Linked DNA regions of Homo sapiens: all the other regions are linked to region 4. Evidence: promoter capture Hi-C in 16 types of primary human blood cells and fetal thymus (Javierre and others, 2016). All regions are on one chromosome and are shown on one strand. Each heading gives the region's core, a stretch centred on a gene start or on the middle of the fragment in contact. The rest is flanking DNA. Distances are from core to core; before and after follow the strand shown.

Evidence for each region. The method cuts DNA at HindIII sites, captures the fragments that hold promoters and counts their contacts. A CHiCAGO score of 5 or more calls a contact.
Region 1: a contact is called between a fragment that was not itself captured here and the fragment with the promoter of FLJ20712 in region 4, in 1 of 17 cell types (M2 macrophages). The highest score is 5.9, in M2 macrophages.
Region 2: a fragment that was not itself captured here is called in contact with the fragment with the promoter of FLJ20712 in region 4 in 2 of 17 cell types (megakaryocytes and M1 macrophages); the score reaches 6.3 in megakaryocytes.
Region 3: a contact is called between a fragment that was not itself captured here and the fragment with the promoter of FLJ20712 in region 4, in 1 of 17 cell types (endothelial precursors). The highest score is 6.2, in endothelial precursors.

The regions. Positions count from the first base shown.
Region 1 is chr7:33,236,095-33,240,500 of GRCh38, forward strand. All of the region lies in intron 5 of BBS9 (Bardet-Biedl syndrome 9), which reads left to right. Among named protein-coding and RNA genes, the nearest start is that of BBS9, 110 kb to the left of the region's middle. The HindIII fragment of the contact is 2,527 bases long and covers 408-2,934 here.
Region 2 is chr7:33,420,691-33,424,670 of GRCh38, forward strand. All of the region lies in intron 19 of BBS9 (Bardet-Biedl syndrome 9), which reads left to right. Among named protein-coding and RNA genes, the nearest start is that of BBS9, 290 kb to the left of the region's middle. The HindIII fragment of the contact is 1,451 bases long and covers 1,714-3,164 here.
Region 3 is chr7:33,252,139-33,256,268 of GRCh38, forward strand. All of the region lies in intron 5 of BBS9 (Bardet-Biedl syndrome 9), which reads left to right. Among named protein-coding and RNA genes, the nearest start is that of BBS9, 120 kb to the left of the region's middle. The HindIII fragment of the contact is 1,344 bases long and covers 1,756-3,099 here.
Region 4 is chr7:33,723,532-33,727,767 of GRCh38, forward strand. FLJ20712 (a long non-coding RNA gene) reads left to right here and starts at 2,450. Exons shown (of 2, transcript NR_165282.1): 1 at 2,450-2,578; 2 at 3,997-4,236. The HindIII fragment of the contact is 5,749 bases long and covers 1-3,668 here.

The sequences.
Region 1 (4,406 bases), core at 421-2,920, 490 kb before region 4:
AGGCAGGTGATCACCTGAGGTTGGGAGTTCAAGACCATCCTGACCAACATGGAGAAACCCCATCTCTACTAAAAATACAAAATTAGCTGGGTGTGATGGCACATACCTGCAATCCCAGCTACTCAGGAGGCTGAGGCAGGAGAATTGCTTGAACCCAGGAGGCAGAGGCTGCAGTGAGCCGAGATTGTACCATTTTACTCCAGCCTGGGTGACAGAGTGATACTCCATCTCAAAAAAAAAAAAAAAGAAAAAAAAATTAGAGAATACAGTTAAATGAATACAAAACAATTACGACTGTGGATGTTGTTAAATTTTATGACTAATTGTGATTGCTAATTCAGAATTTTATATATTTATTTATATACACATACATACTTTAAACAAAATGGGTTATACTGTCCATTATAAGCTTTTCCCCTTACAATATACTATGCCTGTCTTTCTATGGCAATATATATAAATCTACCTCATCATTTAAAAAATACATAATTTATAAATATTTATACAACACATTATAATATGTGCTAGTAGGATTGTTATTGTTTTTAATGTATTTTAATTGACAATTTTATATATTAATGGGGTACAATGTAATATTTTGATCTATGTATACATTGTAGAAAGATTAAATGAAGCTAATTAACATATCCTTCACCTTATCAACTTATTTTTTTTGTGTGGTGAGAACATTAAAAATCTGTTCTTTTAGCAATTTTGAAATATACATTACATTATTATTAACTGTGGTCACTGCGCAGTACAATAGATCATTAAAACTTACTCCTCCAGTCTAATTGAAACTTTGTACCCTTTTACCTCATCATTTTTAATGACGTACAATTTGTGTTTTACACATGCATACACATTATAATTAATTTAATCAGTCATCTGTTGATGTATATCTAATGCTTTCAATAGTTTTTATATTTATAAATCATTGAACTTATTTGTAATTCTTTATATATTAAAAATATAAAATGAATACATTTTTATTAAACCAAAACTGAAAAGTTCCTTTTCATTTCCCTTCTGCAGATGAAATCTCACTCTTGTGCCAAGGTAAATAAAATAGTGAGCAACCTTGCAGTTGGATACAATGTTCAATGCGTTTATAAACATATTTGGTTCTGTTTTATGTTGTTTTACATAAATGAGGTCACTCTGTATATTAGCTTGTAACTTCCTCATTTCAGTTACACGGACATCTTTTCATGTCCAAACACACAGACTTTTGTTCTTCTTTGAGCTATGTACAATTCTATATTTGGATATTTCATTATTTAGTCATTGAGATTGCTTCTAAAATTTCAATTATGGACAGTGTGTTTTTGCAGTGGCTCACTCTGCCTTAGTATATGCCTTTACAGTAAAGCCCATGGGTGTGTATCCTCTTGATCTGTCTGTGACATACATTTTAGCATTTACATTTAATTTCACTTAAGAGTAGTGGTATGTGTTGATCTTGTGGTGGAAAATAGAGGCAGTTGGCTAAATATTCTAGAAAGTTTGCAGAGAGCTTGATCAAATAAGCTCAGAGGAAGAGGTTCCTCACTTCAGGATTACCACATTCATCTAGTACCTTCTTCAACAACCATTTAAATTAACCTTCTCACTGAAAGCCCATTTGGCTAATGGAAGATTTTCACTGACTTTTCACTCTATGAAAATAAATTGATAAAGATTCAGGAGTTATCAGCTCTAGGTATGCTTCTCAGTAATGGATGCTTATTCAAACTTTTACTCTTGTGACAATCAAGATCAGTAGAAGTCTGGTTTTTTGATGGTTCAGATGACAAATTTCAGTGGATAGAAATTGTGTCAACTGCTTTCTGATGAGGTGAAAGCCTGCTCTTTCTGTCCTCTCTTCTCTTCCTCTCCTCCCTCATCCTCAAGAATAGAGAGCCATTTCATATACAGTGGACATTGTTTGCTCCATTAAATAACAATAGTCTTTTCAGACTGACTGCTTATTATCTAAGTGCTTTTGGAAAGAGGGATATAAATCCGCCAATATTTAGGTCACCATTTTTGCTAAAAGTCTTCTAACACATTTGCCTTCTTGCCAAGGTTCAATATACATGTTTGAACATGTGATTTTAAAAAATGTGTGCCCAAACTTTGATCATCATGTCCCATGGCAGAGTCAGTCATTGGTGGGGCCTGAACTTCAGGAATAGTGGGGAGTGTGATTCCTCAAAGGTCTTTTTTTTTTTGAGACGGAGTTTCGCTCTTGCTGTCCAGGCTGGAGTGCAATGGCGCGATCTTAGCTCACTGCAACCTCCACCTCCTAGTTTCAAGCAATTCTCCTGCCTCAGCCTCCTGAGTAGCTGGGATTATAGGCATGGGCCACCACGCCTGGCTAATTTTTGTATTTTTTTTAGTAGAGACAGGGTTTCTCCATGTTGGTCAGGCTGGTCTCGAACTCCCAACCTCAGGTTATCTGCCCGCTTCAGCCTCCAAAAGTGCTGAGATTACAGGTGTGAGACAACATGACCGACCCTTGTTTTTATTTTAACTTAAGTAACATGCTCATTGTAGAAAACTTCATATGAAGTTTGCATTAAGAGGGAAAAAGTATTTTCTATTTTTGCCACTGAGAGCTTTAACCAAATGAGTATTTTAGGATTTTTTTTAGCCTTTTTACTGTGAATTTATATGCAGTAAAAGTGGATTCATATTGTATTTATTAATTTAAAGTCCTTTTCTCACTTAAAAATATTGTGAGCATTTCCCCAAGTCAATAATTATTCTATTGCAATATAAATCTAAATGGTCGTAAAGAATTCTGTGGTATACCCCTATTAGTGGAATTGTTTCTAATATTTTGCTTAAAAAATACTGTGGTTATAAATTACCAGTATTTGAATCTCCATGAGTGTTCATTTCTGATATTTCTTTAGAATCAAATCCCAGGACTGGATAATTGGGACAAAAAGCTTTTGACGCATACTTTAAATTGTCTTATGTCACAGAGATGGGCTTAATTTATGTTTTCATTAGCTGTGTGTAATATCTGTGCCAATACCAGGTAGTATCATTTTTTGAAAGTTTTTAAAAGTTCCTAATCTTCATCAGGCAAAAGTGACATCTTCTTATATTTGCATAATTTATAATAATAATAAAAAATATATTGGGGACTTACTTGGTGCTACTACCTACGACTACGCTAAGGATTTAAACTAAACTTTCTCATTTAATCCTTAAAACAACCCTGTAAAATAGGTGATCATTCTCCTTTTAGGCATGAGAAAATTTAAGATTTGCAAGATTAAGCAATCTGCCCATGAACACACAGCCTATGAGTGGTGGGTTATCTTTTTAACTTTTTTTTTTTGAGACAGAGTCTTGCTCTGTCACCAGGCTGGAGTGCAGTGGTGCAATCTCGGCTCACTGCAACCTCTGATTCCCTGGTTCAAGCGATTCTCCTGCCTCAGTCTCCCAAGTAGCTGGGATTACAGGCACGTGCCACCATGCCCCAACTTTGCCTAATCATACAGATGTTTTAATTTTTTATGATATCAAATATTTTAATCTTTTGTTATGGCTTCTGATCTTTGTATTCTCATTAAGACCTTTCCTATACTAACATTCTAAAATATTTAATGTCTTTTCTTAAATTTATTTTTAGATATGGACTAGGCATGGTGGCCCACATCTATAATCCCAGTGCTTTGGTTGTCTGAGGCAGGTGGATTGCTTGAGGCCAGGAATTCAAGACCAGCCTGAGCAATGTAGACCCCATCTCTAAAAAAATATAAAAAATTAGCCAGGCATGGTGGTGCTGCACACCTGTAGTCTCAGCTGCTTCAGAGGCTGAGGTAGGAGGATCCCATGAGTCCAGGAGTTTGAGGCTGCAGTGATTGTGCCACCGTACTCCAGTCTGGGTGACAGAGCAAGACCCTGTCTTAAAAAAGTATTTTTTAAAGATTTGGTTTACAGTAGGGCTCCAGTTTTCCCCCCAAACATTTATCCAGTTGTCCAGGCACCTTTTATGAATATTCTTTTCTCATATGCTAAATTCCCATAGTCATTAATTTGTTTTTAGACTATTTATTTCCTTTGACTTATTTGTCTGTAGTTTATCTATAATGAATGCCATACCATATAAAAATATTAATGTACAGTATGTTTTGCTGTGTAGGAGGGCTAATCATTCTTCATTGTTCTTTTTTTTTTTTTTTGAGACAGGATCTTGCTATGTCACCCATAGTGGAGTGCAGTGCCATGATCATGGCTCACTGTAGTTTTGACGTCCTGGGCTCAACTGATCCTCGCACCTTAGCTTCCTGAGTAGCTGGGACAACAGGCAGGCGCCACCATGCCTGGCTAATTTTTTTATTTTGTAGAGATGAGGTCTTGCTGTGTTTCCCAGGATGGCCTTGAACTTGGCTCAAGCAATTCTCCCA
Region 2 (3,980 bases), core at 1,189-3,688, 300 kb before region 4:
TCCTGTGAACCCTCTTTGAGAGATTTATGCAGATTATAAAGTCAAAAGAAGCGGTCATTCCAGACTTTTCTTTCCAGGCAGACAGGCCAAAACATAATTTTAGCAGGTATTAGTAAAAATTGAGAAGTATTTTGTGTATGCTGGGATTCTTGCCAGGCTCTGTGTTTGCAACTCCCAAGACATTGCTAAGGTGAAAGTTTTTCTTCACTACCCTTGGAAGATTGTTGAAACAAGCCGGCCACTATTCTTTTCCATTGCATCCGTATCATCGAGGCCTCTCTAGACACTGTTTTGTGGCATCTTGGGCCAACACAAATTGATTTGCTTTTCAGCGAAAGAACTTCATGCAGAATGTTGACTGCAGGTGTGTTTTGGAGGAGGCAGTAAAGGAGTAGAAATGGAAGGATTGATCATTAGATAAAGCAGGTTTAAGTCATTTGGCTATTTAAACTGTAGAACTGCCTGCTTTAATTTGGTGAGGATTTTTAATTTTTTTTTTTTTTACTGTAAACAAATGATTCTACAAACTGTGAGTCCAAGTAGGTACGTCCAAGGAATTTACAGCGACTTTTACATGATTGAAGATAGAACTTTGAATTTGTTTAGAAGAAAAAAGATCTAGTCGTGAGGGAGTGCAAAACATACACCATTTAAAAATACTCCCTGTCATACATCATAATCAACTATTGCATGTGTAGCCATTTATTAATATGTGAGCATGATGATACTTGGTGTGTATGTTTGTAAACTATATCCATTTTGTTAGTTGAAAATATTCTTAATTATTCATAGAAATGTATAAACCTCCATGAGAACGTTTTAACCAGATGTAGCAAAGACCTAGGCATACTTTATTGATCATTTTGTACAGAACATTAGGGAATGTTCCAGCAGAGTGCAGCAAAAGCTAGTTATTGCAAAACATACTCTTGTCTTTTCTTAGTCAGTCTGGAATGTTGAGATATAGAGGGATTTAAGATTTTAAAAATGATGGAAACAAACAGTAGAGATCTTGGAACAATGTTCTATGTGCACTCCTGCTCCCCATCCTCTGAGAAGGCCTCAAACAAGAAAAGCATTCTCTAATTTACTAAGTAACACTGATCTTTCTTAAAGAAAGGACATGGTTGGTACCTCCAGATAACACTTGAAAATTAGCATGGTGTATTTTACTTGCTTTTCTTTTCAATATAACTTTTTAAAAAAGTACACAAGTACTAAATATCAGAATTCTTTGTCAGAAAATACAGAAAAGGGAAGGGAATAAAAATAAACAATACCCTAATTGCACCACCCAGAAAATCATAGTTTAAATTTAGTATATAGCCTTCCAGATTTATGAATGTGTTGGATTATGTATAAATATAAATAAGAAATAGAAATATTTTTAAATTGGGTCATAAGGTACATACTGTTTGGAAAGTGCTTTTTCTTGTAAATATAAATTGTATGTACGGTTATAGCTGCTATAGCTTTTCGTAAATATAGTTAACTCTGGTTGCTAGTTTCAGTTATGTTTGTATGGTATGCTCCTGTCTTTTAAAAAATGTGTGACATATTACTTCACAGTAACATGTAAGTAATTCATTTTACTTTGTGAATAAATATTATTCTGATGCAGACCACTGTATATTTGATGTGTACCACAAAGAATAAATATTTACCATAGCAGAATTAGCTGATTTTTCTTACTGTTGGTGATTTACTTTAAGAAGCTTCTCTTTCTAACTTCTAGCCCATTTTTAGAGAGAAAGTGATATTTTTTAGTGGTTTGTGATTACATAGTGATGATACTTTAATTGTGTTGGTGTTTTTAAGAATATTGGCTAAGTAGTAAAATAGTTGCCCAACTTTTCCTGCTTTCTAGCTACCACAATTCAATTACTTTTGATTGTCCTGCTTTAAATTCCTACTTTATAATAATTATGTCTTCTGTTTATAATGTGATAATTTAAGAATAGAAGCACAAAAGATTATATTTGGCTCTCAACAATGAGAAGACAGCTAATTACCAGAGAAACAGAGCTATCAGATTTTTAAAGAAAAGTATAATTAATAAATGCGAATGTTCAGTTTATTTTTTATTTTTATTTTTTAAAAATAAAGACAGGGTCTTGCTGTGTTTCCCAGGCTGGTCTCAAACTCTTGGCCTCAAGCAATCCTCTCGCCTTTTCCTCCTAAAGTGCTGGGATTACAGGCATGAGCCATCCGTGCCTGGCCTTAGTTTATATATGAGCACATCTGTTTGAATTATGTCTGGCACATGAATGTCCCTGAAGGAATACTGGCTGGAAGAGAACTTGGGGTGACTAGGTCAATGACCCTTCTATCAGAACTGAATGCCGCTTTCCAAACAGGCCAGGACAGTGATCATGAGTGCCAGGGATCGGAACACTTTGCTGATTTAGGAGGTAGAAAGTCAGCCAAATTGGAAGCTGTAGCCATGTTAAAGATACTACAGAAGCTACCTGCTGAGGGGCTGAGACATTAACAGGCCTGGCTACGTGATAAGATTGACCACAAAAGCACAAGTGCGGACCCGATTCCATAGCAGAGAACATCTGCCTCTGCTGCTGGGGTCAGGAGCAGCCTGGAGCCTGTGGGAATACAGCAGGGGAGGCATGTATCACCTTGCTGTAACCACTGGTTCTTCAAGCACAAAATCAAAAAGATAGAATTTTAAAATGAAAATGTATACCTTGGGGGTGTGTGTGTGTGTGTGTGTTTCTAGCTATAAGGGGATGAGAAAAACAAAGGTTTTTGAGTCAGGGCCCACGGGTGTGCACACTGTGCTTCTGGTAGCAGGGTCTAGGATTAAGAGGGCCTTTCATATGATGTGTGAAGAATATATAAATGTAGAAAGCAAAAAAAAAAAAGTATTTAAAAATCTTGCATTGTTTCAGCAACACAATTCAGAGTCAGTAAACTTCAGAAATTATAGGTGCCCCAGGAAATAAATTAAAGGCCTGGGATCATTACTTTACAAGAATGAGCATACCAGGACATTTCGAGACCAAATTTAGTTTCTGTTCCTTCTTCAAAGACAAAACTTGAAGTCTTCTTTCAGTATGTTAATTTAAACCTCTCTAAAAACCTTGTAATTGGGGTAAGCAGCCACCAGGGGGTAGCCATGATTTGGTTAAAATTACAAGTCTGACTAGTAAAGCTTTTTCCCAGGTGGGAAAGTGAAAGGACCACTTTGATTCCTTTTTGAAGTGAAGCAAATAAAATGAAAAGAAAGTTCAGTAAATTTTACTAAACTTTCAATTAATTTCTTGATTGGTTTAAAGGACACTTTTTGAGTTTTCAGCTACTCAGTGGCATTTTTTTGCTCCGGCCACCAGCAATACAGTCTGTCTCAAACTTGACATTAACTAATGATGAACTTTGCTTTTCTCATCACCTTGTAGCTGGAAAAACACACACATACACTATGTGTATTGTATATTTAAAAAAATTCTATCTTTTTGATTTCATGCTTGAAGAACAAGTGGTTCCAGCAAGGTGATTATGGAAGAATATAGGAAAACTTGGCTTATCATTTCCAGAGAATAGAGAGAAGATTACTTTCTATTCTTATAAAAGGAGAGAACTCTTCCTTTTCCAAAGAACAGTTTTCTGCTGCCAGCTAGATGCTGCTTGAAATGTATACATTTGACACTTTAGTAGTTCTGAAATTTGCTTTGGGTTCAGTCTGGAGGGGAACATTAAAAAATACAGATTCCTGAGCTCCACCCTTAGACTCACCAAATTTCAAACGAGAAGAGATGTTTTTTTTAAAAGGTTCCCTGGTGATTCTGAGGCAGGGTCCAGGAAAATGCCTGGCAGCCTTCTCTCTTGTAATGTGTGAGAACTACACTAGTAAGAGAATATCTCAAAATGAACTTTTAAAAAAGTTCCTGTTACCAGAAACAGGTATTTAAAAATATCTAAAAAAAGCACATGTAATAAGACTTTAAGCAGAGGGTTTAACAGAATTT
Region 3 (4,130 bases), core at 1,178-3,677, 470 kb before region 4:
ACACACTTTTAAACAACAAGATGTCGTGATAAATCACTCACTATCATAAGAACAGTACCAAGGGGATGGTGCTAAGCCATTCATGAAGGACCACCCTCGTGATCCAATTACCTCCCTCCCTCCAGGCTCCACCTCCAACATTGGAGATTACAATTTGACATGAGATTTGGACAGGGACACAGATCCAAACCATATCATATGCTAACAGGCCAGGTTTTCTCTGGGGCTCAAGCTTTCTTCAGGCCTTACTTTTTCATCCTATCATGCTAAGGTAGTGGTTCTGAAACTTTAGCATGCACCGTAGTAGTCTCTAGGCTTGTTAAAACCTAGCATTTCTGGGCTCTGTGACCAGAGTTTCTCATATGGTAGGCCTAGATTGGTATCTTAGAATTGGCATTTCTGAGAAGTTCCTAGGTGATGCAAATGGTGCTGGTCTGGGGGCCACATTTTGAAGACCACTTCTTTGAGGTCTTTGGGAGACTGAAGATTTGTGGTTCGATGATACCACATATTGAAATGAACACAAATTTTATTGGTACTTCTGCTTGCAAGTACACATGTTCTGAGCTTACAGTCTTCAATAACACAGATATCAAGAGTATTATTTTGGTTACCATAATATCTTCCACCGCAGGTCAAGGTCATTGCATAAATATTTCATATCTTAATAGAAAATATATCGACATTTGTATTTACATACAAAATGTATATATTTAGACTTAATTTTTTTATATTTTTGTTGTGAAAAAGTATATAGAAAAAGTAAAATGAAAACCCATATTTCTACCACATCAAGTTGTAAATATATATGTATTTATACACTTTTTTTGATGAACCATTTGAAAGTGAGTTACACATCTTGCACCACTTTACCATAAATACGTCAGCACACATCTCCCAATGAGAATATTCTCTTACATTTCACAACGCCATGATCACTTAAGAAAATTAGCAATAATTCCTTAATGTTATCTAACATGCAGTCATATTCAAATTCCCCCAATTGTCCCAATATCTTTCCTATACCTGTTATTTTTGGTACCAGGGTTCAGTTAAGTGAAACTAAATTTTAAGAGACAGCAATGCTGGATGGATCTTTAGGCTCAGATTAGGTTCTGTGTTATTTAAGATCTGGGTTTGGTTGCTTTAACAAAGACTAGACTTAATGATGGCTTAAATAAGAAAGATGTTTGGCCGGGCGCAGTGGCTTAATCCCTGTAATTCCAGGACTTTGGGAGGCTGAGGTGAGCGGATCACCTGAGGTCAGAAGTTCATGACCAGCCTGGCCAACATGGTGAAACCTCATCTTTACTAAAAATACAAAAATCAGCCAGGGGTGGTGGCGAGCTTGTAATCTCAATTACTCGGGAGGCTGAGGCAGGAGAATTGCTTGAACCCGGGAGGAGGAGGTTGCAGTGAGCCAAGATCGTGCCACTGCACTCCAGCCTGGGCGAGGGAGCGAGACTCCATCTCAGAACAAAACAAAAAGATGTTTATTTCTGTCGTGTTTAACCATCTGGAGATAAAGGAGTCTAGGGCTGATAGAGAGGCTCTGCTGTCCACAATACGTGACTTTCATCTCTGAGGCCAAGACAACTGCTCCAGCCTTACCATGATGCTACAAAGAGGGGAGGGAAGTGTATAGTTGGTCCATGTAAGGGCATGTCTGCAAGTTGTATGTATAACCTCTGCTCCTATCTTGTTGAGAAGAACATAATAATATGATGCGTCTGTAAATAGAGGACTGTAAGTGGAAGCTTTATTTTGGATGGCCATGTGTCTAGTGATAATTCATGATTCTACTACTAAAGAAAGAATGGCTGTTGGGGGCAGCAGTTAGCATCTCTGCCAAAAGTTCTTTTTTGCAAAAAAAGAGCTATACCAAACTATATTAAATCCACTTAACAATGATATTTCTCTTTTTGAGATATATAGGGCTCATAATTGCTCCTATGCTAACTGAGCCCAGACAGATGTTCTTTTTTGGATTATTTGATATGTGTTTTATAGATGTTCTCTTTTATTTTTGTTAGGGCATTAGCTGTCATTTCTCACAGCTGACAGTGTCTTCACCCCCTTTCTAATTTACCACTTTCTTTTTTTCTGGGCTAGGGAAGCAGGTAATAATAACCCTCTTAATAATGCTATAATTTATTCTGTGTCTTATGTGTGCTATACCATGTTAGGGACTTTGACATCTTTCCTCTAACTTTGGAACTCTTTTTCAGCATTATTGAGATATGATTGATAAATAAAAATTATATATCTTCAAGGTGTGTACAATGTGATGTTCTGATATACATATACATTGTGTAATGATTACCAGAATCAAGCTAATTAATATTAGTATGGATCACTTCTCATAATTATCTTCTTTTTTGTGATGAGAACAAAGATCTATTCTCTTAGCAAATTTCAAGTGTCCATTATTATTCACTGTAATCACTGTGCTGTGCATTAGGTCTCCAGAACTTACTCATATTATAACTGCAAGTGTATATCATTTGACCAATATTTCCTTGCTTTCCCCATCCCTGACCCCTGGTAAGCACCCTGCTACTCTCTGTTTCTATGAATTTGACTTTTAAAAAATATTACACGTATGAGTGAGATCATGTAGTGTTTGTCTTTTGTTGTCTGGCTTATTTCATTTAGCATGATGTTCTCTAGGTTCATCCATGTTGTTGTAAATGGTAGGATTTCTTTCTTTTTTTCTAACATGTGAGGTGATATCTCATTGTGGTTTTGATTTACATTTCCCTGATAATTAGCAATGTTGAGCACCTTTTCATATACCTGTTGGCGATTTGTATGTCTTATTTGGAAAAATGTCTATTTTAGTCCTTTGCCCATTTTTGAATTGGTTTATTTGTTTTTTGTTATTGAGTTGTGTGAGCTTCTTATATCTTTTAGAGACTAATTGCTTATCAGATATATGATTTGCAAATATTTTCTCCCATTATGTGTTTTTTTGTTGATTGTTTTCTTTGCTGTGCAGAAAATTTTTAGTTTGATGTAGTCCTCCCCTCTATTTTTTGTTTTGTTGCTTGTGCTTTTTGTGTCCTATCCAAAAAATCATTGCCAATACCAATGCCATGAAGCTTTTTACCATATGTTTACCTTCTGGAAGTTTTACAGCTTCAGATCTTTGGTTTAAATCTTTAATCTACTTTGAGTGGATTTTGGTTGTATAGTGTAAGATAAGGATCTTTTTTTTTTTTTTTTGCATGTGGATATCCAGTTTTCCCAGCACCACTTATTGAAGAGACTGTTCTTTCACCATTGTGTATTCTTGGCGCCTTTGCTGAAGATTAGCTGATAACCTTGGAGCTCTTATACAAATATACTCATTTTACAAATGAGAAGGCTGAAGCTACAGGAATATCAGTAACTTGTTTATAAAAACGACAATTCTTAGAACCATAATTAAAATAAGAATTGATGCCCTTAGTGGGACCTGGGAATCCTACCTTTGAAAATTTGCATGATTTTTATTACAAAGACCTTGCAGCATTTATTTTAACTACTTAGAGGCATTTTTATACTTACTCATTTTTGCTGATTGCAGACAGGTAGGTTTGCCAGATAGCTAGATGAGATTCTTTTTGTCTGATTGTGTCTCTGTGAATACATGTGTACAGCATGCATATACATACAACATGCATATAAACTCACATCTTTTTTGGAAACTTTTAATAGCATAGTGGATAAGGATAACATTAAAAAAACAAAGCTTAGGCTGGGCGTGGTGGCTCACGCCTGTAGTCCCAGCACTTTGGAAGGCCAAGGTGGGCGGATCATGAGGTCAAGAGATCGAGACCATCCTGGCCAACATGGTTGAAACCCTGTCTCTACTAAAAGTACAAAAATTAGCTGGGCGTGGTGGTGCCTGTAGTCCCAGCTACTTGGGAGGCTGAGGTGGGAGAATCACTTGAACCCAGGAGGTGGAGGTTGCAGTGAGCTGAGATCGTGCCACTGCACTCCAGCGTGGCAACAGAGTGAGACTCTGTCTCAAATAAAAACAAACAAAAAAAACAAACAAAAAAAACCAAAACAACAAAAACAAAGCTTAAAACAGTAACTGTAAAGCCTACCATACGTTATAAAAGAATCTGAGTATTGAGAGAATA
Region 4 (4,236 bases), core at 1,200-3,699:
TAACTGTGGACAATGTTTTCTAGTCATAAAGTTTTGTATTTATTTCTTGATGTGTTTATTGTATGTTCCTTTTTGAACATAAGAAAGATAAGACATTATTTTCTCCTCCAGGTTTGCCGAGAAGTGCTTGTGGGTGAGCTGAGGGTAGGGCATCTGTGGCTCAGTTTTCAGGCTATGGAGGAAATATCTGCTGGGCTGCTATTTCCCTGCATAAGTTCTCATTGCGGGAGGGAGCAGAAGGTAATTTCAGAAAGAGCTTGTGCTGATCTTTCGAACTGTTTCTCCCAAATTCTGGAGTATCCAAAGAAAGCAGGGTTATCTGCCAGAATGTATCAGAAAGATAGCAGGCATGTGAATTCTACATTAACTATAGGGCATAAGAAATTTCATGTTTCTTTTATTACTTTAAGCTAAATTTGATATGCCACTGTAGCCATCCTGCCAGGATGGTAGGAAATTCAGTTGCAGACTTTCCTGAAATGCCCCTTCCTCTCAGTTCCTGTGGCCACTCGCCCAGATCGTTTGGATAGAGTCCTCTGGTCTTCGGTCCACAGGGGTGACTACTGATGTGCTCATCTGCTAAGTCCTCATGCTCCTGGGAGGCTGGTGGCTCCACCATTCCTTGGCAGAGCTTTGCCATTGCTACGATTTCTCCCTGAGGCCCTGTCACCTCCCGAGGGTTGCCAGAGAAGGAGAGCCTCCACACCTGGGATCACAGCTCCCTTCCCTTCCAGTCCCGGGGAGACACTAGAATCCTTTGAAGGTTCCCTTTTCTATCAGGACTGTCTCCTTCTCCACCTTTTGGAGAAGATGAAGGGTAATCTCCCTTGAGAGAGCCTGTGGAGACACAATGATGGCCTCTGTTCTTTAGGAATGGGGAAAAGATAAGTTATCTAGGTTAACTGGGATTAACTAATTCTGTTACTGAGCTGGGTGACAAGATGGGATTGGGGAATTTGTTTGGGGACTCAGTGAGGACATGCAGGAGACAGATTCAAAGAATCACATGTGAAATGGACAGGGCTCTGATCCCTCTAAAATATCTGTTGCTTTCCTTCTTCCACTTCGACCCCTATCCCCCATAATTCTTCTGTCTTTTTTTGGAGACAGAATCTTGTTCTGTCACCAGCCTGGAGTGCAGTGGAGCGATCTTGGCTCACTGCAACCTCTGTCTCCTGGGTTCAAGAGATTCTCCTGCCTCAGCCTCCCGAATAGCTGGGACTACAGGTGTGTGCCACCACGCCCAGCTAATTTTTGTATTTTTAGTAGAGACGGGGTTTCACCAGGTTGGCCAGGATGGTCTCGATCTGTGGACCTCGTGATCTGCCTGCCTCAGCCTCCCAAAGTGCTGGGATTACAGGCGTGAGCCACTGCTCCCAGCCAATTCTTCTATCTTTAAAAGGTAACCCAGGTTGGGAGGGAAGGCTGGGAGCACAGCAGAAGACAGAACTGCTTTGTTGAGCCCCAGAACCGGCAGCGGATACTCCCTGCCAATCACATGGCACTCACCTCTTTGTGTAAATTTAGAAGGTGCTTGCCCAGGAACAATCTGGCTTGACTGTCACAGCCATCCTGCAAGGTAAGTGGGGCAGTCGTTAACCCCATTTTCCAGATAAGGAAGCTGAGGCTCACATTGATTAAAAGACTTGCCCAAAGTAACCAAGCTGTTGAGGGGCAAAGCAGCAGGACATAGCATCCAGGTCTCTTGACTTTTGCTTCAAGAGCCCACAGCCACACTCGGTGCTTAGATGAGGCTTTGGCTTATCAGTGATTTGTGATGTTTGCCTTTTGCCAAAGAGGGGGATGGCTGAAGAGCTAGTGCCCTGACATTCTGGACTCTTGCCAGTAGATTTTGTCTGACTCTTGCTCTGATGCTATTCTTTGTTATTTTCAGGAAGGGGAGCTAGATGTAGAATACATTTCTTTTTCTTGGTAACGTGAACAGCAAGAAGCAAGTAGAGTACATTTCTTATGAGAGAATATGCTCGGGACTTTGATTCATATCTGGTGGGTCCCAAAAGACCAGGGTACTGCAGATTTAAGACCATGTTGCAAATTCGGCATGCATTCAATAGGACTACCTTAGTGAGGGGAGTAATTTTATAAAATTATCAATTCAGTCTCAAAGAATAATAGCAGGAAATGTATTTCTGACTATTTAGAAGTGACTCATTGTGGGACTGTTTGAAAACTATATTATTTTTATCAGTAAATAGAATTGCCTATAGTCAATGTTATCTCTTCACATCCAGGGATTCTAAGATCCGGTTACCCATTTCCCTCAAAACAGCAGATAGCAAAGCCAGGGAAATGAAAACCCACCAAACCTTCTGCAAGGCTGACACCACCCCTAAACCCCACTGCAAACTGATAACACCACACCCTCCTCTGCAAAATAACAGAGGGGCAGATAAGATGAAAATTTTCATTCCAATTAGCAATCATTTCCAGTCAGTGAAACGGCAGAATCAGAAGAGGTTCCACAACCAGAAAATCTTGGCTGGAATTTCACCATCAGGAATAAAACAGAAAAACTAAAAGAGTGCCCCAGATAGCCTTTCTTAGGGGCCTGTGTCAGGTAAGTGCTTTTGAATATTTAAAACAAAGGATGGCTAAGAGTTCTGCAGTCATTTTCCAGTTAAATATCAGATGGTATAAAATATTTTTATAGAAAGTACAGGCCAGGTGCGATGGCTCACACCTGTAATCCCCACACTTTGGGAGACCGAGGTGGGCAGATCACTTGAGGCCAGGTGTTCAAGACCAGTCTGGCTAACATGGCGAAACCCCGTCTCTACTGAAAATACAAAAATTAGCCTGGCGTGGTGATGCACACCAATAATCCCAGCTAGGTCAGGAGGCTGAGGCATGAGAATCGCTTGAACCCGGGAGGTGGAGGTTGCAGTGAGATGAGATCGAACCACTGCACCTCCAGCCTGGGCGACATAGTGACACTGTATCTCAAAAAGAAAAAGAATTCATAATCCACTTTTCATTAGCTGGTATTTGGCCTTACCAAGGTGAAGCATGAAAATGAAATTCTATCTGTATCAGCCAGATTTTCTCAGACACATGTATTCACTGCATGACGGACCCTGGTTTCCAAATTGTTAAGCATACCAGACTCTAGTGAATGCCCTTCCGAAAGGGCCATCATGCAGCAGGCCTTCCCATCGGAGAGCCATGGTCCCAGCCAAGGCAGCTTTCAGGGGTTGCTCCACCACTCTAGGGAGGCGGCCCAGATCTGTCTCTCCCAAACAGTGTCTGGGTTTGACACTTCCTGAGAAAGCAGAGATTGTTCCCTTTGTATGCCATGGCTCTGGAATGCAGCTCTTCCTGTAAGGAAGACAATGGTCTTTATGGGAAGGCTAGGACTTGAAGGAGGTAAGATTTGAACGGCAGAGCTGGGTGCTAGCTTTCCTGCTGAGGGAAATGGTGGGCACAGAACCCCCGCGGTGGGCAAGCTGGGGTGTGGGTGTGCCTGTGGGCTGGCAGGTGACTCTGCCCGGAGCATCGCAGGGGTGGGGAAGAGATCAAGGAGGTAAGAAAGGTAGTCTAGGGGGAGGGGCCCAGAGTTTTGAACACCAGACTTAGGAATCTGGGACATACGTACTGGCCTTTGCCATTCAAAGTGTGGTCCTGGGACCAACAGCATCCTTGGACTTGAAAGCTTGTTAGACACGCAGAAGCCCGGGCTCACCCCAGGCCTGCTGAATCACAACCTGCATTTTAACAAGACCCCCAGGAAATTTCTATCCTCCTTCAAGCACTGCTCTAGGCTAAGAGGAAGCAAGAACAATTTTTAGAGCTGGGGATAAAGTGATGGGAGGAGTGTTTGGGAATGAGGCCACTAGAGTGCTTAGAGAACACTCACTTGGGAGCCCCACAACAATGCAGGCGTGAGTGAAGGAGGGGGGTGGGGGGCTGCGAGGGAGACAGGTTTTCCCCACAAGCCACAAGGCCCGAGGCACGCCTCCTGCCCTGCCTCCACCTCAGGTCGCAGGAATCTTGTTGGTGATCCATCCAGATGTTGTGTGTTCTGGAAGTGGACATCGCGGCTCTGTGTTTTTGAAGTCAGATCTCATTGCTGTGGTTTCTATGCCTGACCCCCCGAAGTTCTTGCTCCTGTTGCCACAGGGAGCCGGGAGAGCACAGAGCGCTGCTCCCGGTGCCCTGCAGCCACACAAACATGCTCCTGCTCCTGGCGGAGGCAGAGCTGCTGGGAAAGACATTTCG